Regions from separate parts of the Homo sapiens genome. Here all the other regions are linked to region 1. The links are contacts of gene promoters, found by promoter capture Hi-C in blood cells and fetal thymus (Javierre and others, 2016). All regions are on one chromosome and are shown on one strand. The core of a region is centred on a gene start or on the middle of the fragment in contact, and the rest is flanking DNA. Distances in the headings are between cores, read along the strand shown. Region 1 holds the start of IGFBP2 (insulin like growth factor binding protein 2). Region 2 overlaps DIRC3 (disrupted in renal carcinoma 3). Region 3 overlaps DIRC3 (disrupted in renal carcinoma 3). Region 4 overlaps DIRC3 (disrupted in renal carcinoma 3). Region 5 overlaps DIRC3 (disrupted in renal carcinoma 3). Region 6 overlaps DIRC3 (disrupted in renal carcinoma 3).

Region 1 (2,610 bases), core at 1-2,500:
CGGCGATCGGGCTTAAGTTACATTGATTCAGCTGCTAGGAGACCCCTCGCCTACCAAATGCCTCCCTTTTATTTTTCCATTCAACGTGGTAGCAAGAGCCCTGCTCGTTCCCTATGGAGAAATAGTAGTGGTGGTTTTCATTTTTCTCCTAAGCGACTCATCCTACAAAGTACCAAGTCCTTTCTTTCCAACTCACAACCCCAGTAGAAGGAAGGGCCCCTTGGGACGCCGGTGCCTCCTCCTAGCTCCCTCTCCTCTTCCAAGGTTCCTGGTGTCACTGGCACCCCGCAGCCTCCGCCTCCCAGCAGCGATCCCACCAGGACCCTTGGGTCCTCAAGCAGTGCCCCAAATAAGATTCGAGTTCCTACTCCCATGGATCTGACCACCGGCCCCCTTCTCAGCAAATCCCTCCTCCAGAATAGAAGTCTGGGTCCGTTCCACGCGGGTAAAACTATGGCAGCAGGGATGCCTTTCCTCTCCCCATTCATCCCCACCAAATGAGTCGCCAGGGCTCTTCCACTTGCTCTAACTCCAGTTCCCCTCCCCGGGCCTGACTTCCGCGTCCCGCTAGCAACAGTCCCCCTTGATTTGGTCCAAGGTCTCGGCTCTGCCGCCCCTAAAACCGTCCGTAAGGTCCAGCCGCCCGTCGGGCTTCTCCGCTGCCCTCCAAGTTTCTCCCAACTACTTGTTCCAGACCGCGTTACCTGCAACCTGCTCCGGGCTGGCGCCATACTCGGCGTCCCGGCGCTTCTCACAAGTGCCCTCGCCCATGACCAGCGCCTGCAGGGGCAGCTCGGAGCCCGGGTGGGGATAGCAGCGCAGCCCCTGGCCGCAGCGCGGGGTGTAGACGCCGCACGCCTCGCCCTCCAGCCGGGCGCACACCGAGCAGCAGCCGCAGCCCGGCTCCCGGACGAGCTCCGCGCATGGCATGCGGGCGCCTCCGGCCACTGCGGCCACCGCGGCGGGCGGCGCAACCGGCGGGGGCCCGCAGGCGGCCAGGCGCTCGGGTGTGCAGGGCGGGCAGCGGAACAGCACCTCCGCGCGCGCCCCGCCGCCGCCGCCACTCGCGCCCAGTAGCAGCAGCAGCAGCGGCAGCAGCGGCGGCGGCGGCAGCGGCAGCGCGGGGCAGCCCACTCTCGGCAGCATGCTGGCGGTCGGCAGCGCGGCGCGGCGGGCGAGCGAGCGAGCGGGCGGGCGGGCAGGTGGCACGGCCCTGCGAGCGCGGGAGCCGCCTCCTCCGCTTCTTCCTCCTCCCTCGCCGCCGCAGCCGGGTCCTAAAGGGCCGGCTTCTCCCCGCCCCCTGCCTTCTCCCCTCCCCCTTTTGGAGACCACTCCCTTCCCCCCCGACACTCCCTCGCGCCGGCAAGTGAGTGCGCGCACGCCCGCTCGCCCACCTCCGCGTTGGCTGCGGGCTCTGGGGGTTCCCTGCTCTTCCCGGGCCCCGTCCCTCCGCACTCTTCTGGCCTGACTATGACTCCTGAAGGAGAATACGGATAACTCGCGGGTTTGGGTAGGACCGGCGTGGCGGTGGAGAAGAGCGCGTGCTTTTGTCTGCTCTCAGTTCAGTTCGCGAGGACTTCGTTTGCGCGCTTCCCCTGTGGCCGGCACTGGGCTAACCGCTGGGGAACACAAAAGACATAAGGCTCCGTTTTGACCTTCAAGTAGATTTCAGTCGGCTCATACCAACTCCTTCCATCCTGGGGTATCACCCACCACTGACACGTGGCTTGGAACAATGACTTCTTGTTGGGTGGGTCCTGCGGAGTTTCAGACCCGTCTAGACCAAGCTAGACCCAAACAGCCCCGAATGGTCTTAGTGACTATTGCAGTTTTCCAAACCTGGGAGCTCGTGACTACAACCTATGAGAACCCTAAGTGCCCCGCAAAACCTGCCCCCTTCGTCTGCAGACCCCCTCCCTTCTCCGCCCGCTAAAATAATCCCTTAGCACCCTGGGCCCCCACCTACAAATCTCGAGGCACTTGTTGCAGGACAGATCCCAGAACACTCAGTTGCAGGGGTCTTGGAGAGGTCAGATCAGCTCTCCAGGTGTGACAGACCCGCTCTGGGGTAAGGCCATTTATGGCTGTCTTCAATAATGCAGATGGACAAGCATGACCTCCTTTCATTGTTCTGTTTGATTTACTGAGTCATCTACCCAAGCTGCCCCCAACCCCCATCATTCCAGGCTGGACTCAGCCATAATCAACCATCTCCTGGGGTGTGACCCTAACAAAGACCCCTGTCAGAGAGATTCCTTGGGTGACAGGTGGACCATTAAGCTGCCTCCACCGCAGGTTTCATCTCCCTATACCTCAGCGCCCCTCTTCCCCCCAGACCCCTCCACTCTGGCTCTTTCTGACTTCAAGGCTCAGAGCCTGTTTGATTCAGTTCAACAGCTAGTTAACCCAATGGCCACCTGGCTCTGAAGGTGACCTAGATGCCTCCAGGAAGGCAAGTACCTGGTCTTAAGACGCCAAGCTGGGAAGAGTTATCGGGAAAGACTTTGGTAAGATAAAAAATAAATAAATAAATGTTTATCAGAGGCTTTGAAGAAAAGAAATATTTTGGTAGAGAGGTGATGTGGTGGTTGAGGAAAGGGGAGTTTCTTG
Region 2 (2,610 bases), core at 57-2,556, 1.1 Mb before region 1:
GGCTTTTTGTTAGTCCTGAAATGTCACTATGTGGTTTGCTGCTTCCTCTGCCTGCGGGTGATGGGGTAGGGGTAGAAGGTGGAGGGGGTGCAGGTGTCTTGTTGGGAGCCCCTGGAAGTCACCTCTTTAGAGGGGCCGTCTCTGAGATACGACGATTCATTTTCTGTTATCCTTATATTTTTGTCTCTACTGCCCCCAACTCCCCCCATGTAAACAGCCTGCTCCTTTGAGATCCCTGCTTTGGGAGACTTGCTGCTGCAGGCCAGGGAGTAGGAATTGCTTTCTTTTCTTTTTTCTTCCTTTCTGGGAGCCTGAGTTCTTTGAGATGTGAGTGCCTTTGAGGGAAGAGTCCCGGAGGCAGAGCACCCTTTTCCCTGTCAATGCCCAGGGTGGGCAGGACCTCAGAGTGGGCTGACAGTGTGATGTGTCTGTGACTAGCTTTCTCTGGCACTGTTTGGCACAGAAGCAGCAGAGCCCCTGGGCTCCTGGGTACTGTGTGGCCTTGCATCAGTTATCTCAGTGTAACCAGTGGGGACAAATGGCCAGTGACCACGCATGCACCCCTTCCAGTGATGCTGGTGAGAGAGAGGATGGGCGGGTTCCATTAATGACCAGGACAAAATTTGCTGTCTCAGGTGGGATGGGGGCTCAGAGATGGATTTAACTTGACTTAAATAATTTTTTTGAAAATTATATTTCTCATATACCTGAAATCGTGGAGTTTGATTTATAGTTGCTATTTCTGAATTTTCCTTAGCACCTGCACAGCGTCTTGTATGCAGCAAGCACTCACTAAGCCCTTCTCCTTACCCTGCCAGTCTACCTATTAGACTAGCCCTGGTGTTCAGGACTTAAAGTAATGGGCCAGCTAGGAGCCTCCAGGGCTGGGTCTCTAGACTGCAGGTGCCATGAGATGGGTACTCCCAACAGTCCAGCCTCAGACACATTGCTCTGCTTGACAAAGCTTTGCAATTCCCATGAGTGACAGCACCAAGAGCTACCATGTCTTGAGAGCTTCTGATCTGCTGGCATGGTGTGAAGCCCTTAGCATGGTATCTCATTAGTTTTCACAGCAGCTCTATAAAGTCCAGACTACATTGTCTCTATTTTGCAGATGAGAAAACTGAGGCTTGGAAAGATGGCAGAGCCAGAATACTATCCCAGGTGGTTGGACACCAGAGTCACTCATTTTAAGCACTTAGGACAAGTGACTGATGGACTGACTGAATAAAGAAGGACAGGAATAATAAAGTTGTCAAATTGGGGAATGGCAAGACAGGATGTATTTATTTCCTGCCTTTGGCACCTGTCTTCAGTGACCCTTTCCCTCCCTTTTCCCCTTAGGCCCCACCCAGAGAGGCTGATTTCCAGTCTGTGGGGTCCAAGGGGGATTGAGGGTCCCCTGTCTGTGCCTTCTGGACCCTCTGGGAGCTCTTGGCTCTTGACTCTGGGCTGGGAGGCTGGAGCCCTATTGCCTTTTCTATCAGGGATGGACAGAGACATTCTTTTTCATTTTCTTTCCCCAATGCCATTTTGTTAAATCAGAAATCCTTGAGGAGTGAAGTCACATTTTCCATGCCCCTGAAAGCTCTGGAGAGCTGATGAGTGTTATTGTAACCAGAGGAGACTGGGGACAAAGGAAGCTTATAATTTTGTAAACGAGGCTTGGGAGTGCCCTGCCTGCAATGGCTTTCCAGAGGGAGAGGCAGAATTCGGAAAAACCAGAGGCAAGAAGAATGGCAGGACTGGCCAGCCTTGAGCCTTGCACCCAGGCAGAGACCCTCCTGCCCCCTTCTCCAGTTACTGTTTCCCAGCCTTCCCTGGGGAAGGAAGTTGGCTTGCTGAAGCGGCAAGATCTCTATGCTTAGAATGAAGCACGTGGGGTCACAGTGCCGGCTCATTCACCTCAGTTTCCTCATCTGCAAAATGGGCTGGTGAAGGATCTGCCCCAAAGAGTCTGCACTCAGCCTGGCGATGGGGCTGTGTTTCATAGAGAAGGAAACTGAGGCATGTGTTTTTCAGATAGGAAGTGGCAGAACCGGGATTTAGATCCCGGCAGTCTTACTCCTGAGTGGGAACTCCCACCCCTTGCTCCACAGCGCTTAGGCTCACCAGAGGCCAAATCATGTGAATCAAATGTGACCCGCGTGCTGCCACCTGGGGTCAGCCCTCTTTGCCCCAGCCTGGAGGGACAGAGGCTTCCGCTGGAAGGTTAGGCTCTTAGGTCTCTTCAAACCTTAACATTCTCGGACCTTCTCCTAGTGGCCAGACTCTGTGACCTACTGCGTGGGAGGGAAGCCTGGGAACAGGTGGCCTATTTCAGCCCCTCTCAAATGAGTTCCAAGCAGGTGGCTGTTGCTTCCTCTTGCTGGCCATGGCTTCTCACTAGGCTTGCACAAAAATGGAGAGAAGACCAAATAAAGCTCCTTTGAGGACAAATGTCTTGGACAGGGCTGGGGGTGGGGATCCAAAGATGGACAGAGCCAACCCCCAACCCTTGCAGGGCTCCGAGCCTGCCTGCTTCCAGGCTGCAGGTCTTCTGTGCAGGCTGGGGTTGGGTGTTCAGGGCTGATGGGGGCAGGCATGTGAGTGATTTGGGGAAAAGGGCTG
Region 3 (2,610 bases), core at 81-2,580, 1.1 Mb before region 1:
TCATTTTCTGTCTCTGAGATGCAGTTTTCTGACCCGTGCAGCAGGATAGCTGGCCTAGATGATTCCCAAACTCCCCTTCCACCATGACATTTCAATGACAAACATTTTTAAAAATAGAAAATAAACAGTATTTTAAGCACAGGCCCTAAGTGACTTCATTGAGCTCACCTTGAACTGCCCCGCACCAGAAGCAGTTTGGCTCTTCCCTATCAGCCAACTCTGTCTGATCAGAATCTCCTGTTGTTTTTGAACTGGTTTGGAAACTGCAAGCAGGATGAATCCCAGCTGCTCATGCCCTTTGGGACTTCCCAGACCCCTCTGGCTGGAGAATGTAACCCAAGACTCTTGTTCTTGTATCTATGCCAGCCCTTGTCATACCGTAGTGGCCAATCTGTCTCCCACCAGATTAATCCATTTATTGCACCAATATTTATTGAGAGCTCGGTGGTGTCAGGCATTATTCTAGCTACAGTAGGGAATATAACAAAGCCCCTTTCTGCATGCAGCTTACATTCTAAAAGGAAGGGAGAAGAGGGAGAAATAAACCTGCACCCCCCCACCCATAATTTGATGTCATGAATGGTAAGTAGTATTATAAGGACTAGAGAAACAGAGTAAGGGGAACAGCATGAAGCAGAGTGCTGTTTTAGCTTGGATGATCAGGGAGGCCTTTTTGAGGAGCTGACTTTGGACATAGCCCTGAAAGAAACAAGGGCACGAGCCACGCTGCTCTCTGGAGGAAGAGTGGTTTAAGGAGGGAAAACAGCAGGAGCAAAGGCCCTGAGGTGGGAGCATGCTGCCTGGGCTCTAGAACAGCAAGATGGCCAGTGCAGTTGAAACTGGGAGCAGTGAAGGGGAGAATGGCGGGCAGGAGGCTGGAGGTCAGATCATGCCGGGGGAACAATGAGCATGGATTTTGTCTGAGGTGTGATGGGAAGTCTTTGGAGGATTTGAGGAAGGGAATAAATATGATCTGATTTGGGTTTTAAAAGGATCACCTGGTTGCTGTGTATAGAAGACACTGAAGTGAAACAAAGATGGAAAAGCAGGGGACCAGTTAGGACAGGGGACCCCAGTTCCCAAGCCATAGAGGTATCAGTCCATGGCCTATTAGGAACCAGGCCACAGAGCAGGAGGTGAGTGGGGGAGGGGGTGAGCAAACATTACCACCTGAGCACCACATCCTGTCAGATCAGTGGTGTCATTAGATTCTCATAGGAGCACAAACCCTACTGTGAACTGTGCATGTAAGGGACCTAGGTTTGTGCTCCTTATGAGAACCTAATGCCTGATGATGTGAGATGGAACAGTTTCTCCCCCTACCCCCACACCTGGTCCACCATGAAACTGGTCCCTGGTGCCACAAAGATTGGTGATATGGTTTGGCTGTGTCCCCACCCAAATATCATCTTGAATTGTAGTTCCCATAATCCCCATGTGTCACAAGAGGGACCCAGTAGGAGGTAATTGAATCACGGGGGAGGTTTCCCCCATGCTATTTTTGTGATAGTAAGTTGTCTTGAGATCTGATGGTTTTATAAGGGGCTTCCCCCTTTGCTCGGCTCTCATTCTTCTCTCTCCTGCTGCCTTCTGAAGAAAGATGTGTTTGCTTTCTCTTCTGCCATGATTTTAAGTTTCCTGAGGCCTCCTCAGCCCTGCAGAACTGTGAGTCAGTTAAATCTCTTTTCTTTATAAATTACCCAGTCTTGGGTATGTCCTTGTAGCAGCATGAAAAAGGATTAATACAGTTGGGGACCACTGAGTTAGGAGAGGATCATGGAGACTGGTGGGAGATGATGGCTTGGTTGAGGAGAAGGTGAGACGTACTTGGAATCAGGTATACGAATGCAGGCACAGACCATGCATTATTTGCCTGAGATGGGCTCTGGCCCAGAACAGATGCTCAGAAGAAGGGAAGATGAAAGTGGAGAGCTGTGGTCAGGGTTGAGAGAGGGAGAAAAGTGGAGAACACTGATACAGCTCTGGCAAGCCCACCTCTGAGGCTCTGTCTGCATTGCCTATACCTGTTTGTTTGCCCTTGATGTCTACATTCTACAAATACCTTGTTTTGGTTGAATCTTTTGTTGTTCAACCTGGCAGGCTTCTATTCCTGAACCTATTGTTTTGTCCCTATATGACCCCTTCCTGCTAAGAACAGCGCTGTCCTTTTGGGGCCTGCCCCTCCCACCCCATTGCTTTAATGTCTGCATCACCTCGGATTTGCTGGACCTTTCTTTTCTCTTAGGACCTCACTGCTTGCTCATGGAGACTGATCCTCTGTGTCTGCTGCCACAGTCACGCTGCTGCCCATGGGTTCCCTCCTGTGGGATGAGTTTTGAGCTCCAACATCACCTCTACTGCTTCTGCTGTGGCCAACCTGATCCAACCTGATCCTCAGATGCCTCCCCATTCTAGTCTCTGCTGAAGTGCCACACTGCTTTCCTTGCTTCTTTGATGCCTTTGGTAGGGACTGCCCCAAGATGCCAAGCAAGGCTACAGCCCAGCAACATGGGGAGATAGTGCCTCATGTAGAAAACTTTGACCTATGAAAGACAGGAGATGCGAGGGATCCAGCAGACAATTTTTTCTCTTTTCTTCTATGGGATGGAA
Region 4 (2,610 bases), core at 38-2,537, 1.1 Mb before region 1:
ATTTTTCAAAGAAATGCACACGTGCGGAGAGTGGAAAATTAAAGAAGCCAACAACCCAAACCGAAGTTGGTTCTGAAGGAGGGAGATATAAACTTGAGCTCCAGAGCTGGAGCCAAGACAGGAAGTGGGCTTGGCTTGCACGAGGTGCATATGCTGCATGGAAAACCACTCTACGCTGCTCAACTCCCTGTCTTCCTAATTCCCCTCAGCTTCCAGCCTCTGCTGACCCTGGGAACAATGCAGCACTGTGCTGAGACTGTGCCTTTTGTAATGGCCTGGGAGAGGAAGAAAGGAGAAACTGGTCTGGGCGTCTGCGTGTGTGAATCACCCGTGTCACATGGCCAGGCCGGCTGCAGCGTCTCCCCGGGTCTGCACAGGGCACACAGGGAGCATGGCCTGAGCCCATGCCTGGAGGCTGGTCAGCCAGCTGCAGAGTGCCCCACTCTGAACCACACAGCCAGGGAGAGGATGGAGAAGGGGGAAGGTCTGGTGCCATGAGGGCCTTGGAGGACATTCCTTGTTGCCGTGGGGGCAGGCTCTGGGCCCTGGATGTCCCCCGCAATCCCAGATCATTTGTGGAGATTGGGTCTGATGTTCGTGAAAGTCACAGACTTTTTGGTTCATCACTGAGACCTGCAGGACGCTGGCTTGTCTGTTGATTCAGGCAAGACACGTCTCCTTCAGTGTGGGGGCTTTCTCCAAGGACCAAAATATGTCCAGGGTATGGAGAAACCACCTTATTCTGGAGAAAAGAGGGTACAATGAGGTGGGCAGGAGCCAGGGCTGTTCTGTTTTCTAGAACCTTCTAAATCCTGGCTTTAGAGTCACAAGCAAGAGACGCTAAGGCAGGCTCCTCGGAGGGCAGGTTGGAAGATGGTTGGTGTCAGGACAAGAGGAAGATTCGGGCCAGACACCAAGAAAGGCCTGCGCTGTTTGAAGACAGAGCAGATTACTGAGGGTGGTTGCAGCACCCCCCCAATCCCTGTTTCTACTTGGAGAGGGCTTGCACTGCGTGGAGGCACGGGAATGGATCTGTGACCCTGGGCAGTCGGAATTAACCTGACCTGGCCAGCCGAGGTGCCTTCTCACAGACACCCTGCAGAGGGCAGTGTGGTACTGCGGGCAGGACTTTGTTGCCTCATCAACTTTTCTTTCCACCCTGCGGCCCTCCTAATCTTTTAAAATCAAAGCTGCTTAGACACAACCTGAGCGCTGCTTGAATGACATGGATTTAGCCTGGTGCTCTGGGCCCCCTTTGCTGAGGGAAGCCCTCCAGCCTTGGATGTGCTCAGAGAGCTTACCTAACTCTCCCCTCTGCCTGCTTCCAGGCCTTGGGGACAACAGCTAAAAGTGGCTGTGTAGATGGGCAGAATTTGGTTGTACATATGTAGAGCCTCAGGATTTTCAAAACACATTTTCATCTGCTCCTTGAACCCATTCTTAGAGGTGGATGGGATGCTCCGTTTTATAAGAGAGAATTGAGACCCAAAGAGAGGGGAAGTGACAGCTCACGGGGGCCCAGCTGATTCGAGGCAGAGACACGTGGGGGACCCTGGTCTTCTAACCCTCAGTCCAGTGCTCATTCTACCCCTTGCGAAGCCCCTGAAATGCAACCGGTGTCAGTCCCCTCCACCAGCCGACCTCCCCCTCTTTGTGGTTCTGTTTTCTCCCAGGTGAGGGGGGGTGAAGATGCCTCTGCTACTCCTAGATCCTTGAGCCACTCCCTGGCCAACTGTATGATCTCTGGTAAGTCCCCTCGCTGGGATTTGCTTTTCCTACCAGAACAATGAAGTTATTGGATCAGATGATCTCGAAGGTAGCTTGGAACCTTGACCTTTCCTGGTTCCATGTTTGGGCTGTGTCCCCAGTTACAAGTTATTTGGTCGAATTGAAGAATAGAACCTTGCAGGGTGGTGGGTGACAGATGCAAACTCCAGCTGTGAATCTGACCAGACTCTGTGCATTGAGCTGGTTGTTTTCATGTGGAGGGTGCAACCTTGTTCCCCAGGACTTGAGAGAGTCAGGTCAAACCACATGAGGACATTCTGCTTGCTGACAAATGGCATAGACGGTGGTGTCAGTGGATGTGAGTGACAGTCGTCAACTGTGCCCCACAGAGCTCCACACTGAGAGGCCGGTTGTCGGATGCTGGGGGGACAGTGCACTCTTCCAGGGCTGTGCTTCCTGCTCCATCTCCCTAGCAGCCCTTTGTATCCCCGGCAGTTGGGAGTCGGCACGAGCTCTGTTTCTGTGCTGGTTGCCTCAGCAGGTCTGCTGTTTTCCAGGAGGAGTGCATAGGAAAAAGAAAGAGCCAAACCCTTCAAGGCACACCCAGGGTCACAATTACAAGATATACTTTGGATGTGTGGGATGGGGAGGAGTGGAAGGACAGAGCAACATAGACAGAGCCTGAAAGTCAGAATTCCTTTTTGACATCATCAACCACCATTCATTGAGCACTGAGCATGTGCTAGGTACTATGTACCCACAACTGGGTACAACTCTTAATAATCTCATTTTACAGATGATGACATTGAGGCCCAGAGAAACTGTGTAACTAGTCCAAGATGGCACAGCTCAACAGAGGTAGAGTAGTGATGGCTAAGTGCA
Region 5 (2,610 bases), core at 33-2,532, 1.1 Mb before region 1:
AAAAATTAGCCAGGCCTGGTGGCCGTCGCCTGTAGTCCCAGCTACGCAGGAGGCTGAGGCAGGAGAATGGCGTGAACCCGGGAGGTGGAGCTTGCAGTGAGCCAAGATGGCACCCCTGCACTCCAGCCTGGGCAACAGAGCGAGACTCCATCTCAAACAACAACAACAACAACAACAACAACAACAACAACAACAACAAACCAGCAATGTTCTTGAAGTGTAAGCAGTAATCTGTAGGTTGTCAAAGAGTAGGTAACCTTCCTTCATCTTGTGACTGTAGATGCAAAGTTGTCACATTGTTGTTCATTAAGGCTGTGTACCCTGAATTCTTACTACGTCAGGACCTGCTTTTCTCATGGCAATCCTGATATCTACCTATTTAGAGCATTGACTCCATTCTCTGTCAAAGCATCCTGTCTCTGACAGCTCACCCAGTTTCTGTTGGTCAGAGGTCTGAGCAAAGATGGCTTCTGAGAGGATCTTTAACAGCTCACTCAGCTATTCCTGACTTATGTCCTTCGGCTGCACTTCACTGAGATCTCCAGGGACCCTTCATCACCATGAGAAAGCATTTATTATTGGGATCATCAGCTGATGTATGAGGAGCTGAAACTTGTTGGTAGAGTCAAAAGGGATTTCAGCCTGGCTACTTTGCAGTTTCATTTTCTAATTTCCATGACATCACCCAAAATGACTGCTGAGAATTTCCAAGGGCAGTTTCTGGGGCATCTTCAACCACAACTTTCTCCATGTTGAGAACACTTTCCTGTCCTGGTTTGAACTCAACATGGTTACACAATATTATCATGAATAAGGAGTCCCAGATTCCAGAGCCTCGGGCAAAGACTTGGGTTGACTGTTCTTCACGTGTGTCAGCCACATTAATCTGTTACACCATGGATGGATCCTGTTGTGAGTCAGAGTGCCAGTCTTGTCAGTGCAAATGATGGGGTGGAACTGGGGGTCTCCAGCACTTCCAGGTTCTTACCAGGCAGTTCTACTTGGCCATCCATTTTCTGTCAGTAACAGAGTGAAAGTGACAGTGACAAGGAGGCCCTTAGGTACATTGGCCACGTGACGCCAGTGAGGAAGATGGAAGGGTTCAATGCATGATACTTCATGGACACTGATGATGAAGAAAAGGATGCCTATGAATTCCTGCCACAATGCAAGCAAGGTGCTTGATCTCACTGGCAATGAGTATCTTCTCATTTCCAGCTTCTGAAGTCAGTGAGGCCATCTGTCCAATGATGGTGCCATTGCCTGTGTTGGCAACTGTGCCAGTTGCTGTGCCTTCTAAACAGGTTGTGGAAGAGAAGACAGTATTTTTTATTTCCAGGGGATTGTCATGAGACAAGTCACATGAGCAGGACTGTGGCTTGGACATCCCATTGATAGATGAGTTATCTACCCTACCTCTCTGAAAAGCCAGCAACCTGATATCTGTAGGAATTTAGTGTTATCCTTTAATCTTCACTGTATCCTGGTTACCAACTGTTATGCAGAAGTTGCATTCTTCTCTGTATCTCAGACAACAAGAGCTTGCTGAAGAATAATTTTACTGAAGGTGGCCATGATATTGGTGTTTTTCACCTCTTGGTAATAAGCAAAGATCCCCGCAACCAGAGTAAGCACAGAACTCACATACACATTGTCTAGGGACACAGACTTATCACAGGAGTACTGAATGCTAAATGCAACCCAGCACAGGAATGCCACAGAGGGATGAAGAATGCTGGCACCGAAACTTGACAATCTTTGATGTTTCTTTGAGAGGCCTAAATTAGGGTGATCCCAAGCCAGGAGCTCTGAAGCTCTCATGCTGGAGAGACCTGTATGTTTGCACCATATTTATCTTTCAATTCCTTATTGCTGAATTTGTGGTCATCCAGGTCAAGTTCTTTCCTGTGTTTCTCTTTCTGGTGATTGTTTTTGAGTTCCAAGCAATTGTTCTTCCGGCGCCTGTACTTTTCCTTGCCTCTCCCTTTGGCTCTTTTTTCTCTACATTTTTAGTTCCACTGAGCTACACCAAATAAATTTTTGGTGTTGTCTTGTCCATGAAGTGGATGACATGGGCCCTGGAGGATGAGGTTGGGTTGCATGAAGGTGCAACTCTAAGGTGTGGGTCATACTAAGGGCCTGGAGCCCAGGGATCTAGCTTTAGGAGCTCCAGACAGGGACACCAAAGGGCCAATGTCAGCCTGGAAATCAGGCTGGCATCCTGCAGCCCATTAAGTTCAGCACCTGTGATCTGTTTTCTATCTTATTTCCATGCATTTCTTATCTACCCTACCAGGTTGAAAGTATTCTGAGGGCAGAACCTATGTTTGTTTCATCATCATATTCTTATCACATGGGAATTCAAAAATAGATATTTGTTGAATGAATAAATGACCTCACAATTTAGGGTCTGCGGGTTTGTGTCCACCATTTGGCAGAGAAATGTAGCCACTGATGGAAGAGATAAAGAGATGAATGAACAAACTTCATAAAGCAAGAGGCTCAAACTAGCTCCTCAATTTTCAGCTGGGGCTCCTGGAAGTCTTTCTGAGGAAAAAGGTGCATAAGTCAATCTAAGCCTCAGTTTCTGCATTTGTAAAGTCAGGGTGA
Region 6 (2,610 bases), core at 36-2,535, 1.0 Mb before region 1:
CGAGGCTGATTTTTTCCATATATCAGTCACATAGTTCCCAAGGCCCTTTCCTGTGGTTGCTGATGTTTCTTCAGCAGCAAGAATTAGCTTGGGTCTGAATTAGCTTACTTGTTGGGCACATATATCCTTTGTCCTGGTGCTCCCTCTGCCCCAGCATGATATTTACATGTCCACTAGAGCAAGCATCATGTTTTACTGTGGCTTGTGTTATTTTATCTGACTGTCCTGTTAGACTACGGGCAGCTGGAAGGTCCAACCGTGTCTTATTCAGTTTTTTAGAGTGACAGTTCTTAGCAAAGTGCTGGGGGCTTGGAATACTCTAGCAGCTCAGTAGATGTTTATGAATAAACTAATGAATGAGGTTTTGTCCTGACTTGCTCTCTAAGTTCATATTTCCTTCCATGGCAAGACAAAAGTAGTAGCTGTTAATTCTGACTTAGAGTGGAATGCTTCATGGACCCAAGTGGCAATTGAGCTAGTTCCTTAGAAGGCAGTAGAGTGGAGTTGGGTGTGGTAGCCATGTAGAAGGTGAGGGGAAGATCAGTGTGGGTCACGTGCAGCGTGTGGTTGGAGACTAATGATCAGCTTAGTGTGGCTGTGGCACCGAGGACACAAGTAGGTGTAATAAGAATTGAGTTTAAGATTGTAGATTGGGTACAGATCATGACGGACTTTCTATGAAGTGTTAGGGGCAGCTTGGAATTAATCCTCCGGCCAAAGGGTCAGGAGCCAAGGAAGTGTTTGAAGGATATGAGAAAGTAGATTTTGGTAGTAGTTGTAGGGATTTAGTTTAGACATTTTGGAGGGTTTTCCAAGGTTAATGGGCCTGAGTTATCAATCTCTCAGGCATTTGGAATGATTATAAATAAGCTTCCTGGGATCTTTTAAGGCATAAGGCATGGTCCTGGTCAGTGGCCCTAGGAGAGGATTTATATAGTGACTGAGATGTCTCCAGACCTAAGAAACTCCGTTTGCAACTTTTCCTCCTAGGAATAAGCCTGTATGGATGTGGTGTCCTGAGAGGCTCCAGGGCGGGGCATCACTATTGGAATCAGCCAGAGGTCTCCAGGCCTTCAGGGGACATTAATTAAAACCATCACCATGTGGCCTCTTCAGCCCAAGGGGTGATGAATTGCACTTGAGGTGTGTGCAGTACATTACCCTTTGGCTCAAGGGTGCAAGCTCTGTGTCCTTCATGACATTACCTAAGAGTAATTCACAATATGTTCTAGAAGGCTGCCAGGAAGTATGAAGAGCAACTTGTACACTTCTGGATTTTCTTTCCTCCAATCACCATTGTTCCCTGGAAGAAGGGGCATCTTTATCCCTGGAGTCTGGATCACAATCCCACATCTGAGTCCTTTTATTAATTTCCTGGTGTAGGTTGGGCTGGTAATGCAGACCTCATATCATGCAGAGCAGAAAAGGACCTTGTCCTTCCTCCAGCTCTGGCTGGAACAAATGAAGCCCAGGGGTTGCTGGTGAGGGCTTAGTGGAGAGACAGTCTGTTGGTTCATGGCCAGAGTAGAGCCCTGGAGAGTTCAGGAAGGCCAAGAGGAATTTTCAGGGCTTTAGAGAGGAGAGCTGAAGGTTGGGGTCACCTGTCCCTGCTCACCATTAAAAAGTGAGGCAGCAGAATCTGTGCCTAGTCTGGAGGGCTTCCAGTATCCCCCAGATTTCCCCCACCTGCCTTAAGCTTCCTTCTTTCAAGAGCTGATGTGGGTTTGGAAAACTCTGACAATCAAGCATTTGCCAAGGAGTAGGAGTTGCAGTGGTGAGGGGAGACTTGTTCTTATGGACTTTTCTTGGATACAGGGCACAGGGGGCAAAGTGGCACAAAATGCCTGGTGGGCCTCCTTTATAGGAATTTGTCCACCAGGTTTGCAGAGCTCACATTTCCTGAATTTAAAACACGCATGCACACAACACACACACCACACACACCACACACACACACACACACACACACACACACACACGAGTCATGCATTACTTACCAACAAAGATTTGTTCCCGGGATATGTCATTAGGTGACTTCTGTCATTGTGTGAACATCGTAGAGTGTATTTACATAAACCTCAACCGTAGAGCCTACTAAACACCTATGCTACTGTATGATATAGTCTGTTACTCCTAGGCTACAAACCTGTACAGCATGTTACTGTACTAGATACTGTAGGCACTTGCAACACAGTAGTATTTGTATATCTAAATATATCTAAATAAGAAAAGGTACAGTAAAAATATGGTATTATCATCTTATGGGAACCACTGTTGTATATGTGGTCCATCATTGAGCAAGACATCATTGTGTGGCATATGACTATATACACACACGTACATATATGGATATATGTATACACACGCACATGCATACATGCAGAGGGACCATTTGATAAATAGCATGCATAGGTTTTTGTGGATGAAATGCCCTGTTGGTCTGTGTTGTGTTGTTTGCCAGCAATCCCCAAAACATAGAGATAGAAGCCACTGCAAATAGAGACCACCTTGCTCTCTCCTGGCTAAACTATGTGAGGCCCTGAACAATAGTATTCCCTCAAAGTGGCATTTATGAGTTTTAGGGGACTGTGTTGAGAGGATGCTGGATTT

Evidence for each region. Contacts are between HindIII fragments. The CHiCAGO score rates a contact against its expected background, and 5 or more counts as called.
Region 2: a fragment that was not itself captured here is called in contact with the fragment with the promoter of IGFBP2 in region 1 in 2 of 17 cell types (erythroblasts and total CD4 T cells); the score reaches 6.6 in erythroblasts.
Region 3: a contact is called between a fragment that was not itself captured here and the fragment with the promoter of IGFBP2 in region 1, in 1 of 17 cell types (fetal thymus). The highest score is 6.0, in fetal thymus.
Region 4: a fragment that was not itself captured here is called in contact with the fragment with the promoter of IGFBP2 in region 1 in 5 of 17 cell types (total B cells, erythroblasts, neutrophils and 2 more); the score reaches 7.2 in total B cells.
Region 5: a fragment that was not itself captured here is called in contact with the fragment with the promoter of IGFBP2 in region 1 in 2 of 17 cell types (non-activated CD4 T cells and neutrophils); the score reaches 5.9 in non-activated CD4 T cells.
Region 6: a contact is called between a fragment that was not itself captured here and the fragment with the promoter of IGFBP2 in region 1, in 1 of 17 cell types (erythroblasts). The highest score is 5.8, in erythroblasts.

The regions. Positions count from the first base shown.
Region 1 is chr2:216,632,060-216,634,669 of GRCh38, reverse strand. It overlaps IGFBP2 (insulin like growth factor binding protein 2), which reads right to left and starts at 1,250. Exons shown (of 4, transcript NM_000597.3): 1 at 705-1,250. The coding sequence starts at 1,146. The HindIII fragment of the contact is 7,523 bases long and covers 1-2,610 here.
Region 2 is chr2:217,752,965-217,755,574 of GRCh38, reverse strand. All of the region lies in intron 2 of DIRC3 (disrupted in renal carcinoma 3), which reads left to right. Among named protein-coding and RNA genes, the nearest start is that of DIRC3, 36 kb to the left of the region's middle. The HindIII fragment of the contact is 679 bases long and covers 967-1,645 here.
Region 3 is chr2:217,733,761-217,736,370 of GRCh38, reverse strand. The region is part of intron 2 of DIRC3 (disrupted in renal carcinoma 3); the gene reads left to right. Among named protein-coding and RNA genes, the nearest start is that of DIRC3, 55 kb to the left of the region's middle. The HindIII fragment of the contact is 4,058 bases long and covers 1-2,610 here.
Region 4 is chr2:217,712,165-217,714,774 of GRCh38, reverse strand. The region is part of intron 2 of DIRC3 (disrupted in renal carcinoma 3); the gene reads left to right. Among named protein-coding and RNA genes, the nearest start is that of DIRC3, 77 kb to the left of the region's middle. RefSeq lists an enhancer at 1,001-1,050. The HindIII fragment of the contact is 4,216 bases long and covers 1-2,610 here.
Region 5 is chr2:217,693,344-217,695,953 of GRCh38, reverse strand. The region is part of intron 2 of DIRC3 (disrupted in renal carcinoma 3); the gene reads left to right. It also overlaps the pseudogene LOC100533848. Among named protein-coding and RNA genes, the nearest start is that of DIRC3, 96 kb to the left of the region's middle. The HindIII fragment of the contact is 5,943 bases long and covers 1-2,610 here.
Region 6 is chr2:217,632,424-217,635,033 of GRCh38, reverse strand. The region is part of intron 2 of DIRC3 (disrupted in renal carcinoma 3); the gene reads left to right. Among named protein-coding and RNA genes, the nearest start is that of DIRC3, 160 kb to the left of the region's middle. The HindIII fragment of the contact is 826 bases long and covers 873-1,698 here.